Regions from separate parts of the Homo sapiens genome. Here region 2 is linked to region 1. The links are contacts of gene promoters, found by promoter capture Hi-C in blood cells and fetal thymus (Javierre and others, 2016). All regions are on one chromosome and are shown on one strand. Each heading gives the region's core, a stretch centred on a gene start or on the middle of the fragment in contact. The rest is flanking DNA. Distances are from core to core; before and after follow the strand shown.

Evidence for each region. The method cuts DNA at HindIII sites, captures the fragments that hold promoters and counts their contacts. A CHiCAGO score of 5 or more calls a contact.
Region 2: a contact is called between the fragment with the promoter of ZNF695 here and the fragment with the promoter of ZNF670 in region 1, in 4 of 17 cell types (neutrophils, M2 macrophages, erythroblasts and 1 more). The highest score is 6.9, in neutrophils.

The regions. Positions count from the first base shown.
Region 1 is chr1:247,073,913-247,080,756 of GRCh38, reverse strand. It overlaps ZNF670 (zinc finger protein 670), which reads left to right and starts at 1,946. Exons shown (of 4, transcript NM_033213.5): 1 at 1,946-2,163. The coding sequence starts at 2,161. ZNF670-ZNF695 (ZNF670-ZNF695 readthrough (NMD candidate)) reads left to right here and starts at 1,946. Exons shown (of 7, transcript NR_037894.2): 1 at 1,946-2,163. RefSeq lists silencers at 1,912-1,981, 1,770-2,083. The HindIII fragment of the contact is 6,434 bases long and covers 917-6,844 here.
Region 2 is chr1:247,003,823-247,010,666 of GRCh38, reverse strand. ZNF695 (zinc finger protein 695) reads left to right here and starts at 2,610. Exons shown (of 4, transcript NM_020394.5): 1 at 2,610-2,761. The coding sequence starts at 2,759. The region is part of intron 1 of ZNF670-ZNF695 (ZNF670-ZNF695 readthrough (NMD candidate)); the gene reads left to right. RefSeq lists silencers at 2,358-2,417, 2,918-3,017. The HindIII fragment of the contact is 12,382 bases long and covers 335-6,844 here.

The sequences.
Region 1 (6,844 bases), core at 697-3,196:
TAAAAAGGAAAATGCCAAATGGTCATCTTTTTGCAACGTATATAACAGAAAAAGGGAAGCACACAGTTTCTGTCTGCTCCAGAAAATAAGAAAGCTCTCAAAACATATGGTACAAGGACAAAGGAGGCAATGTATAGAGCCCCTCACTTACGATGGGACAATTTGGCCGGGCGCGGTGGCTCACGCCTGTAATCCCAGCACTTTCGGAGGCCGAGGTGGGTGGATCACCTGAGGTCAGGAGTTCCAGACCAGCCTGGCCAATATGGTGAAAGCCTGTCTCTAGTAAAAATACAAAAATTAATCAGGCGTTGTGGTGGGTGCCAGTAATCCCAGCTACTCAGGAGGCTGAGGCACGAGAATCGCTTGAATCCGGGGGGCAGAGGTTGCAGTGAGCCGAGATCATGCCACACTGCACTCCAGCCTGGGCAACAGAGTGAGACTCGGTCTCAAAAAAAAAAAAAAAAAAAAGGGATAATTTGAGCTCAAAAAATAGATACAGACTGCAGTGTATGGAATCTCATTAAATACACAAAAAATAAGGTTAGAAAAAAGTCACTCACATTTTTTTTGTTTGCTGAGGCCACGCCGTCATTGTTATGACAATTGATTAAAGGGAGAATCAAGCTTTTATTCTTCCTTTCCTAATAGGGTAGGTTTTAATGTAATGGAGAGAGTTCATGAGAAAACGCCATTTTTAATAGAAGAATGAGAACTAATACCTGTAGAGAAAATAATTAGAAAACCACTATTTGGCAACTCTCACTGAGATAAGTGAAATTAAGAAATAGTAATCAATAAATAATGAACAGTTACATGAAAGGAACAGGCAGACATTCCCGAACAACCTTAAAATAAAGTGGTAAAACCAGACACGTGTATCCAAATGTGCAGGCTGAATTGAAACATGCTGGAAGCTTAATATATAGAGTGATTTTTCATTAATAATATATCGATTGTAAGGCCGTCTGAGCAGGCTGCGCCATGGTCAAGCCATTGTGATCCCTGTGACCCACACGTGTACATCCAGAAGGTCCTGGAGCCAGAAAGTCTGGGACAACAGGAAAACCACAAAGGAAGAAAAACGGCTAGTTTCTGTCTTAGCTGATTAGCCAACCTTGCAGCATTTTACCGTTGTGACGTGCACTACCCTAACTGATCAATCAGCCTAGTGACACTGTGACCCCTCCCTCTTGTGACAATGTACTTTGTGACATTCTTCCCCCGCCGGTAATAAACGGCCCCTGACTGTAACTTTCCACTGCTTACCCCTCACCTATAAAACTAACTCCAATCCCACGACCCTCCGCTGACCCTCTTTTCGGACTCAGCCCGCTCGCACCCGAGTGAGTAAACTAGCCTTGCTGCTCACACTTAACCTGTTTGGGTAGTCTCTTCAATTAGGCGCGAGCTTAACATCGATCATATATTGAAACAATATTTTTGGATATATTTGGTTAAATAAATCATTGTAATCAATTTCACGTGTTGTTTTCTTTTCTATTGCTACTGGAACACACGCGGCTCACATTTTATTTCTATGGGGCGTTGCTACCTGAGAGGACATTGTCTTTTCAAAATTCAAGCTGCCTCTAATCCCACTAGAAGCAAGAAAAAAAAAAAAATTCAGGCTGCCTCCTCAAAAGACCAGAGGCCAGGAAGGTTGTGAAATCTGAAATTTTAGAATAATTGTCATCATAGTGTTTCCAATTGTAAATATCACAAATATTACTCATAAATGGACATAATCCTGTGTATGAGCTTGAATGGGAAAGTCCCCCGGGGGGCGCCAGGTCTCAGCACAGGGCAGAATCCATGCCTTAGAAAAGGACTGCAGGGAAAGAACCTGGCCTCACTCAGCGCCGTGTCTGATTGCATCTCCCGTCACTCAGGACTGAAGGGGCGGGGCCTAAGGCCCTGTCCAATCGGGCGCTGGGAAGGGGACTGTACTCTCAAGCGCGCCGCGAAAGGAGGGAGCAGCTTCCGGGACCTGGCGCGGCTTTTGTGTTGGGCAGCGCGAATGTGGCGAGCTCGGTGCGTCTCCGCTGCTCCTTCCCCTTATCCCTGGGAGGTCCAAGTGGTCCCGCGGCAGCTTCTGTTGCTCTGGGACCTGCAGGTCCCGGAAGGTCCTTAGGGAGGACCCCAGACACCGGAGACTGGGAAATGGTGAGTGTGCCGGCCAGGTGTCTCGGGAAGGGGAAAAGGGAACCGCCAGGAAGCGGTTGTGGCGAACCCGGACCTCCCCGCGGTGCCGACCCGAGTTTCCGCCGGCGCCTCGCGGCCTTAGTGGCACAGGATGCGGGGCTGGACCCGCAGCCAGACCCCGGGCCGCCTGGCTTGTCCCTGCCCCGCCGCTTCGGCCAGGCCCGGAACCCTTTCTGGGCAGCTCTGCCTCTGTAGACCCGCATCTCCCTCGGATCGTGCGGTGCCGACGGGAGGGTCCTCAGGGGAGAGTCCCGACTTGGGGTTCGGGGTTCCTGCGTGGGAGGAGCTGTGGTCTGTGAAGTCTCCAAATCCTCCTTTCTCCTGTTAGAAAGAAAACTGAGGCGCCGTTAAAATATTAAGGAGTTTATTTGAGCAGAGAGTCGTGAGTTAGGAAGCCACCAGCGTGGTTTGTGGTTTGGGGAAGGAAAGGGTTTTTTGTAAGGAACCCGAGGAAGCAAACCCAATTAAATAATTGATCGTGTACAGTTATGTAGTCACCCCATATAGACTGTGCAGCCAGATATCTCCTGGTTATGTAACCAGAGGTTAATTGGTGGGTTCGTGGTTGTTTAAGGCTGTTTTGTTTCCCTTTAAGTTATTAATTTACAAGACAAGCATGAGTTACGTTTTGGTTGGTTGTTTATTCATTCATGTGTGTATGTACATGTGTATGATGGAGTCTTGGACTCGGGCTCAAGCGATCCCCCCACCTCAGTCTCCCTAGTGCCTGTGTTTAATTATTTTCACATAACACTCCACATTTCTAAGTGTATGGCAACAGGATCTCACATCAACGACCCTGTTCCCACAGCCTAACTCTTCTGGGGCTTGTAGTAAAACCCTAAATTTCCAATTCTTTTCCTATATTCAAATGCAACATTATCAAGTATTTGTCTTTTATTGTACATTTCATACAGATGAAGTGTGTTATTTTTTTCAGAGTAGTGAGTCGTTCTGAAAATATTTGTTTTCACTCTTAAAATATTTCTGAACATTACACATGAGTGGAAAGCAGAAAATAATCACCTGACAGTTAATTGTAGAAAAAAAAAGTCTTTGTGCATCTCCTAATTTTATCTTTTTTGAGTGTGCACATCTTACCAGAGTATCTTTGGGGTGAAGTTCCCTTTTGGAAACTTTAGAGGGTGATATGTCCTCAGCCACCCTTATATCTTTTCTTGGTCCTCTGTTTAGCAGCCAGATCTCTTGGAGTGTCTAATGAATACCTTCTCCTGGGTCATCTCCTCACAGAGGACAGTTTAAAATATGGAAGTAGAGCCTCTCCAGGCAGCATCTGGGTGCCCTGGAGTTGAGAGACGTCTCCTAGTATACTCTTCGTTTAAAAAACAAATCCCTGGTGCATTGGGATTTTCTTCCTCCAACCCCAGTTTTCATCATTCCTTGGAGACACGTTGGTGGCAGCCAGTCAGATGCTGGTATTAAGGGAAAAATCTAGAAATGATTCCTGCGCTCTGGATTTTCTCGGACTTGGGAAAGGAGAAAAACTATCTCAAAGGACAAGGAATACCCACCCCAGTGAGGTGGTGCAAGAACCAGAAAAGCACCATCATCAGAATTATGTAAGAAGAGAGTTGGCTGGGCGTGGTGGCCCACGCCTGTAATCCCAGCATTTTGGGAGGCCAAGGGAGGCAGATCACTTGAGGTCAGGAGTTTGAGACCAGCCTTGCCAGTATGGCAAAACACTGTCTCTACTAAAAATACAAAAATTAGCCCAGTCTGGTGGTGCATGCCTGTAATCCCAGCTACTCAGGAGGCTGAGGCAGGAGAATCGCTTGAGGCCAGGAGGTGGAGGTTGCAGTGAGCTGAGATGGTGCCACTGCACTCCAGCCTGGGTGACAGAGGGAGACTCAGTTTGAAAAAGAAAAAAAAAAAAAAGAGAGTTTATTCTAAAGTATTGCAATGGGGAAAAACACCAGGTATAAGAGCTGCAAGCATGTTAAAGTTTAGGCAGAAAAGGGCTTAGAAATTCAGGCACACAGGCCAGGTGCGGTGGCTCACGCCTGTAATCCCAACACTTTGGGAGGCCGAGGCGGGCGGATCACGAGGTCAGGAGATCGAGATCATCCTGGCTAATGTGATGAAACCCCATCTCTACTAAAAATACAAAAAATTAGCCGGGCATGGTGGCGGGCGCCTGTAGTCCCAGCTACTCAGGAGGCTGAGGCAGGAGAATGGCGTGAACCTAGGAGGCAGAGCTTGCAGTGAGCTGAGATCACGCCACTGCACTCCAGCCTGGGTGACAGAGCAAGACTCCGTCCCAAAAAAAAAAAAAAAATTCAAGCACACAGTGGGGCACAGTACAGTGTCTCCTGGGAGGGTGGTCATTGAGTATTTCTGTGAGGAGAATGGGCCTGTGAGGATCTCCAAAGTGATGCAGTGACCTGACCTGACTCTTGACCCAGAGATGTCTGTGTTCTGCCAGCATGACCCCTCCCTGAGTTTATTGCCTTGAAAAGATTTATTCACTTAGTTCAGTTTCAGTTTTTCATTAACTTTAAAATATGTTTTATTCAGAGAGCTTGAAAGATTAAAAAAAAATATTTCCAAAGAGACAAGAAGGAGGTGGATTTCAAGGGGGCAAAAATCTATTCATATTCCATTTGTTAAAAATTCTTGTTAACCTTTTTCTTCCCAAGAGTGAGTGTAGTAAGTTTCTCAAGTCTGTTCTTTTTTGAAGGAGATTTCAAATGGAATTCTAGGACTTTGCTTTGGGAATGTGTATTAGTTTGTTTTCATGCTGCTGATAAAGACATACCTGAGGCTGGACAATTTATAAGAGAAAGAGATTTAAAGGACTTATATTTCCACATGGCTGGGGAAGCCTGACAATCATGCGGAAGGCAACAAGGAGCAAGTCACGTCTTACGCGGATGGCTGCAGGCAGAGAGAGAGAGAGCTTGTGCAGGGAAACTCCAGTTTTTAAAACCATCAGATCTCATGAAACGTATTCGCTATCACCAGAACAGCAGGGGAAAGACCTGCCCCCATGATTCAATTACCTCCCACCACGTTCCTGCCACATGTGGGAATTGTGGGAGTTACAATTCAAGATGAGATTTGAGTAGGGACACAGCCAAACTATATCAAAATGTTACCAGGGAAAAATATGAAAAATCTCTTTTCCATTATGGCTGCAGAAAAATGAATACATTTCCACAAGCAAGTGTTGTAGATAAATTGGTGAATTATAAATATTTATCAAAACATCAGTGCCTCCTTTTTGCAGGGTGGAGAATTTATAACAGTGGATAACCCTGTTTTTTATCCTGTTATCTGGACATTGGAGTTTAATGCTAAGTTTTATGGGATAGGACTTGGCAACTCCTGGAGATGATTTGTTATCATGGAAATAATAAATAAATGACATATTTATTATATGATAGGGATAGATACTTTGGCTTTTCCAGTTGAGGTATTAAACGTAAGTGCCTCACTCAGTTCTTCCTTGGGAGCCTCCCTTTACAGATGTCCCAGCCTGCTCACCTCAGCCATGAAAGGAGCTCTTTATATTGAGAGAAGCTACAGAGTTCTGGAAATCTGGTGTTCACAGGTGGATGTGGTTGGGCCTGGATTGAAAGGATGAGATCCCCTTTTTAAGGGTGTAATTTTCATTGTCCTGGCATTCTTTCTAGACATTATTCAATAAAGCAGGGGTCCCCAACCCCTGGGCCATGGAGCAGTACCTGTCGGTGGCCTGTTAGGATCCAGGCCATGCAGCAGGAGGTGAGCAGCAGGTGAGTGAACATTACCACCTGAGCTCCTTCTCCTGTCAGATCAGTGGTGGCTTTAGAATCTCAGAGGAGCACGAACCCTACTGTGAACTGTGCATGGGAGGGATCTAGGTTGTGTGCTCCTTATGAGAATCTAATGCCTGATGATCTGAGGTAGAACAGTGTGGTCCCAAAACTATCCCCACCATCCATGGAAAATCTGTGTTCTATGAAACTGATCCCTGATGCCAAAAAGGTGGGGAACTGCTGCAATAAAGTAAATTCAGAATTATGTAAGAAGGGAGTTTATTCTGAAGTATTGCAATGAGGAAAAACACTGGGTATAACAGTGGCAAGCATGTTAAAGGTTAGGCAGAAAAGGGCTTTCTTTCATAGGAAGGAGCAAACTAGATTAGAAAAAAGAGGAGAGGAAGAGGGCCGGATGGATTCTAGATCAGAGAACATTTCACCCTGAGGTCAGCCTGTTCACAGGAGAGGCATAAAGAGGGGTTGTATGTTGGCTCAGGCTGAGGGTATATCAGAGTTCAGGGGCCTGAGGGAAGGAGGGAAACTTAAGTAAAATTTGGTTAGCAAGTATTTTGTTCTGACCACTGAAGACAAATTTGGTCAGCTAATTAGTTAAGAGGCGAAAAAAAAATTACGCTGTCTGTTTCTGGCTTTATTGTACGTAAAGGAAGCATCATCTAAGTCATAATGAGAAGGTGTTTGTTTTCACCAAGCTGTTCCTGGAGAACACAAAGAATGTTTTTGTTGTTTGTTTTTTAACTTGCATATATTTAACAGGATTACCTACTCACCCCATCTTCCCCTGCTATGTTCCCGTGTCCTCTACAACTCTTCCATTGAGTTGTTCCTGAGTCACATCTTGTATAATACACTGGTAAACATCA
Region 2 (6,844 bases), core at 1,361-3,860, 71 kb after region 1:
TTGTTCATAAAAACCCAAAATAGGAAACAACCCGAATGTCCATCAACAGAAAAATGGTTCAGCAAATTGTAGAGCGGATATTCATACAACAGGATGCTACCCAGCAGTACGAAGACACAAGCCACTGAAGCACACACCCTGACTGCATCTCACAAGCTGGGTATATGAGACAAAGTGGAATAAAATGCATATTGTATGGCTTCAGGCAAAAATGAACCTAGAGTGAAAATAAATCAACACAGCCTCTGAAAGTAGAAAAAAACTGCCTGGGAAGAAATACGAGGAAGTTTTCTGAGAATGATGAAAATATTCCATTCTTAAAAGGGGTGAAGCTTATATGGGTATATTTTATTTTTTAAAAACTGTACATTTAAGATTTGTGCCTTTCAATGTGTGTACATCTGACCTCATGCAAAAAAAAAAGGAACTAAAAAAATACAGCAGTGGGTGCAGAATGGGTTGAAGCATAGATGAAAGAAAAATGGCACAAGATGAGTAGTTCTTGAATCAGGGTGACGGGTCTATTATACTATTTCGTTTATTTTGTATATGGCTAAAATTTTCTGTAATAAAACGCTTGTATGAAAAGGCAAAAGTGATGTACAATGTTAGCTCTTAAGATCTTTAAATGAACCAGTTGTGGTGGTTGTGTGCCTGTAGTCCCAACTACTCAGTTGGCTGAGGTAGGAGGATCGCTAGAGCATCTTCAGCCTGGGTGAAAGGGTTAGACTCTGTCTCAAAAAAAGAAAAAAAAAATCGGCAGGGCACAGTGGCTCACGCCTGTAATCCCAGCACTTTGGGAGGCCAAGGCGGGTGCATCACCTGAGGTCAGGAGTTCGAGACCAGGCTGGCCTATATGGTAAAACCCTGTCTCTACTAAAAATACAAAAATTAGCCGGGTGTGGTGGCAGGCGCCTGTAATCCCAGCTACTCGGGAGGCTGAGGCAGCAGAATCGCTCGATTCCGGGAGGTGGAGGTTGCAGTGAGTCAAGATCGCGCCATTGCACTCCAGCCTGGGGGACAAGAGCGAGACTTCGTCTTAAAATAATAATAATAATAATAATAATAATAATAATAATAATAATCTTACTTACCACTGGGGAGGTAGATAAGGGAGGCAGATAGTAATTGTTGGGATATGAGTGATGCTGGTTCTATTTCTTGGTTATACAACTGTATTTGCTTTGTAATAACTCACAGAGCTTTACATGAATGCTTTGTATTTTTTTGTATGTGTGTTGTGTATCAAAAAAATTATTATATATTTTTACATAAATCCTAACTTAGAATCTCAGAATAACAGTAGTGTTTTATTTTGTTTGAAGTGAGACACACTCACCCATGATACCATCAAATGACTTTAAATATTCTGAGCTATTCATTCATGTTGTAACCTTGGGTGCTCCCCTAGGTCTTTTCAGTTTTACTCCAATTTGGAAAGTGGAATGGTTTCAATCTGGGGGGATGCAACTTTTTCCCAGCAAAGTCCTCTCCCCACAATGATGTTCACCAAGGCCAGGGCAGCTAGTACAGTGCCCTGTGCATAGCAGGGCAGTTGTAGAACTGGGCTGAATCAGAAACAAAATTAGTAGCAACCACTGGTTCAAGGTAAGAGATGCATTAACTGTGCATGAATTCCATATGTGTTGTGAGGGTTTGCCCCATGGCCAGTCCAGGGTTTAGGTCTTAGAAAATAGCTTTGCCCTGTTAAGAACCAAAGAATGACTTCAAGACATACTCAGCTGTTTGGCTAAATTTCTGCAGGAGGAAATGTCTTCACAGCCGATTTTTTTGTTTTGTTTTGTTTTTGTTTTTGAGATGGAGTTTTCCTCTTATTACCCAAGCTGGAGTGCAAAGGCATGATCTCGGCTCACTGTAACCTCCGCTTCCCAGGCTCACGCGAGTCTCCTGCCTCAGTCTCCTGAGTAGCTGGGATTACAGGCGACCACCACCACTCCTGGCTAATTTTTAAAAATACTTTTAGCAGAGACGGGGTTTCGCCATACTGGCCAGGCTGGTCTCAAACTCCTGGCCTCATGTGATCCTCCCTCCTCAGCCTCCCCAAGTGCTGGGATCACAGGCGTAAGCCACCACGACCCGCCAGATCCTAGAAAATTTTAAATGACACGCGTGGCTCACCTTTTATTTATATTGCATATTGCTGCCTGAGAGGATTGCCTCACTTTCCACAGCTCAGGCTGCCTGGTCAAAAGACCAGAGGCCCGGAAGGTTATGAAATCGGAAACTTTAAAATAATTATCATTCATTGTTTCTATTTGTGAAATATATATGTGTGTGTGTGTGTGTGTGTGTGTGTGTGTGTAAAACTTATGAATGGATATAATCTTATATACAAGGTTAAATGCCATTATCCCCCAGGCAGGTGGGTCCAGGTCGAAGTGCCGTGAGGAATGTCGCTTCAAAAGGGCTGCACCCAAAAACCTGTCACTCTTGTTTCATTCGGCCCAGTGTCTGATCGCACCTCCTGTCACTCAAGACCTGAGGGGGTGGGGCCTGGAGCCCCATCCAGTCAGCGGCGCTAGCGTGAGAACTGTCCAATCAGGCGTGCAGCCAGAGAGGAAGGGGCGGCCTTGGGGATCTGGCGGGGCCTTTGTCTCCTTGCGGCCGGCGGGGTGCTGGGTTCCCGTCTGCTGCCTCTCGGAGAGTCCCGGGTGACTGCCGCAGGCTCCATCGCCCTGTGGCCTGCAGGTATTGCGAGATTTATAGGGAGGACGCTGGGACCCCCAAAAGCTGGGAAATGGTGAGTGTGCGGAGCAGGGTGTCCCGAGAAGGGAGAGGGGGTGGTTGGAATCGGTTGGAATTGGCTGGAACCAGCGCTGGCGGCCCCGGGCCTCCCGGCGGTCGGCTCCGGAGTGTGCGGCCGAGTCCCGCTGGCGCAGCTCGGCCCTCAGTCCCGTCCCGCGCAGGTGGGGGCCGGGCCGGCAGCGGGATCCCGGCCGCTGGGTGACTGTCCGGTCTCTGCCTGGTGACTTCGGCACGGCCCAGAGCCCTCCCGGGGCAGCCCCGCGCCCGCAGCGCCGCGTCTTCCCTGGATTGTGCTGTGATGACGGAGGGGTTGTCGGGAGAGTCCCGACTCCCGTGAAAGGTTCCTGGGTGGGAGGAGCTGTGGTCTGTGGGTTCCTTTCTCCTCTTTTTTTTTTTTTTTTTTTTTGAGACGGAGTCTCGCCCTGTCGCCAGGCTGGAGTTCGGTGGCTCGATCTCGGCTCACCGCAACCTCTGCCTCCCAGGTTCAAGCGATTCTCCTGCCTCAGCCTCCCGAGTAGCTGGAATTACAGGCGCCCACCACCACGCCCAGCTAATTTTTGTATTTTTATTAGAAACGGAGATTTCACCATGTTGGTGTCGATCTCTTGACCTCGTGATCCGCCCGCCTCGGCCTCCCAAAGTGCTGGGATTACAGGCGTGAGCCACCGCGCCCGGTCTCCTTTCTCCTCTTAAAAAAATAAACTGAAGCACCTTTGAAATGTTAAGGAGTTTATTCCAGCAAACAGTGATTTATGAATCTGGAAGCCCCTAGCCCTGGTTTGGGGCTAAACTTGAAGGGAAGGTCTTCATAAGGTGCACGAGGAAGCAACCACGTTTAATAATTGATCGGTTGCCATTATGCAGTCACCTTATTTGGACTGTCCAGGATGAAATTTCCTGATTATGTAATAAGAGATTTATTAGCATTTAGTGGTTGGTTAAGCCTACGTTTTGTTTTTCTCCAAGTTTGCAATTTACAAGAAATTCATCTAAGTTAGCTAGGATTCCTTAGATAGAATCCCAGGACATCAAAGCCACTCAGTCTAATTGTCTGCCATTTAAGTATTCTAACACTCCACAGGGGAACTGGTTTTCCCAGCATTTTTCAAATGTATGGCAAGCAGGACCTCAAATCCAGGACTCTGTTCCCCCAGCCTAACTGTTTTAGGGCCTGAAGGAAATCTTGTTTCCAGTTTCTTTTCTACATTCCCAAATGCTAACTTTGTCTCTCCAAACACAACATTATCAACTATTTGTTCTTTTTATTTATTTATTTTTTTTGAGACGAAGTCTCACTCTGTTGCCCAATGGCAGGTAAGCTGAAGTGCAGTGGCACAATCTGGGCTCACTGCAACCTCCACCTCCCAGGTTCAAGCGATTCTCCTGCGTCAGCCTCCTGGTAGCTGGGAATACAGGCAGGCGCCACCATGCCCGGCTAATTTTTGTATTTTTAGTAGAGATGGGGTTTCATTATGTTGGCCAGGCTGCCCTCGAACTCCTGACCTCGTGATCCGCCCGCCTCAGCCTCCCAAAGTGCTGGGATTACAGGCATGAACCACCGCGCCCGGCTTATTTGTCCTTTATTTGCTTTTCAAACAGATGCAAGATTTTAACGGTTCTTTTTTGTTTTTTTCACAGTGCAATGAATGGGCTTTTTTTTTTTTTCTTTTTTTTTTGAGACAGAGTCTCGCTCTGTCGCCCAGGCTGGAGTGCAATGGTGCAATCTTGGCTCACAGCAACCTCTGCCTCCCGGGTTCAAGCGATACTCCTGTCTCAGCCTCCCGAGTAGCTGGGACCACAGGCGTGTGCCACTATGCCTGGCTAATTTTTGGTATTTTTTGTAGAGACAGGGTTTCACCCTGTTAGCCAGGATGATCTCGATCTCCTGACCTTGTGATCCTCCCGCCTCGGCCTCCCAAAGTGCTGGGATTACAGGCTTGAGCCACCGTGCCCAGCCATGAGTGGCTTTTTAAAAAATATTTTCTTTCTGTTCTGAACATTTCACATGAGAAGAAAGCAGAGAATAATCACTTGACACTCTGCTGTAAAATCTTTACTCAGCCAGTGTCCTGGATAGTTTCCTTGATGTTTTCTGTTCATAGTTTGAGGTCTTAGATTTACGTCTTTAATCCATTTTGATTTGATTTTTTGTATATGCCTAGAGACGGGGGCCAAGTTTTTTTGTTGTTGTTTTTTATCGTTTTTTTTGTTTGTTTGTTTTGTTTTGTTTTGTTTTGAGACAGTCTCACTCTGTCATCCCCTGGGCTCAGGCTATTCTCGTGCCTCAGCCTCCCGAGTAAACTGGGACCACAGGTGCAGGCCACCACAGCTAGCTAACTTTTGTATTTTAATAGAGACAGGGTTTCACTGTGTTGGCCAGGCTGGTCGGACTCCTTGGCCAGGCTGGTCTCGAACTCCTGGCCTCAAGTGACCCTGCTGCTTTGGCCTCCCACAGTGCTGAGATTACATGCATGAGCCACCACACCCGGCCAAGGGGTCAAGTTTTATTCTTCTGCATATGAATATCCATTTTTCCCAGCACAACTTATTGAGAGACTGTTGTTTCCCCCAAAGTATGTTCTTGGTGCCTCTGTCACAGATTAATTTGCTGTAGATGTATGGATTTTTTTCTTGGTTCTTTATTTTGTTCCATAGAGCTATGTGTCTTGTTTTATGCTAGTACCATGCTGTTTTTGTTGCTATAGCTCTGTAATATAATCTGAAGTCAAGTAGAGTAATTCTTCCAGTTTTTTCCTTTTTGTTCAGGATGGCTTTGGCTATTCTTAGTCTTTTGTGGTTCCAAAAAAATTTTAGGCTTAGTTTTTCTATTTCTCTGAAGAATGTCATTGGTATTTTGGTAGGTATTACACAGAGTTTATAGATTGCTTTGTGGAGTTACGGACATTTTAACAGTAACATTTTAACAGTCTTCCAATCCATGAACACAGAATATATTTCTGTTATTTTGTGTGCTCTTCAGTTTCTTTCATCAATGGTTTATAGTTTCTGTTGTTGAAATCTTTCACTTCTTTGGTTAAGTTTATTCCTAGGTATTTTATTTGTTGCTATCGTAAGTGGGATTACTTTCTTCATTTCTTTTTCAGATTGTTTGCTGTTGGCATATAAAAATGCTACTGATTATCGTATGTTAGTATTGTATCCTACCACTTTACCAAATTTGCTTTTCAGTTTGAATAGTTTTTTGGTAGAGTCTTTAGGTTTTTTCAAGTGGAAGATCATATCATTTGCAAACAAGGATAATTTGACTTCTTCCTTTTGAATTTGGAGAGCTTCATTTTGTTCTCTTGTCTGTTCTAGTTAGGACTTACAGTACTAAGTTGAGTAACTGGTGAAAGTTGGCATCCTTTTCTTGTTCCACATCTTAGAGGTATAGCTGTCAGTTTTTCCTCCTTCAGTATACTAGCTGTGGGTCTGTCATGTATGATTTTACTGTGTATGCTCCTTTTATACTCAGTTTTTCGAGGGTTTTTTTTTTAAATCAATGAAGGATGTTGAATTTTATGAAATTCTTTTTCGGCATCAGTTGAAATGATCATATGGTTTTTCTCCTTCATTCTGTTAATATGATGTGTTACATGGGTTGATTTACATATGTTGAACCATCCTTGCATCCCTGGGATAAATCCCACTTGGTCATCATGAGTGATCTTTTTTGTTGTTGTTCTTTTTGAGATGGAGTCTCGCTCTCTCGCCCAGGCTGGAGTGCAGTGGTGCAATCTCAGCTCACTGCAACCTCCGCCCTCTGGGTTCAATGATTTTCTTGCCTCAGCCTCCCGAGTAGCTGGGATTACAGATGCCTGCCACCACACCCGGCTAATTTTTGTATTTTAGTAGAGACAGGGTTTCACCATGTTGGCCAGGCTGATCTCAAACTCCTAACCTCAGGTGATCCGCCCGCCTTGGCCTCCCAAAGTGCTGGGATTACAGGCATGAGCCACATGCCCGGCCCTAAGAAAAAATTTTTACTGTCATTCAAATACTAAGAATTTATGAATACACATTTTTAGAAATATAGTTCTAATGAAACAGTGTTTCAGTGTGGAACATAATGTATTTA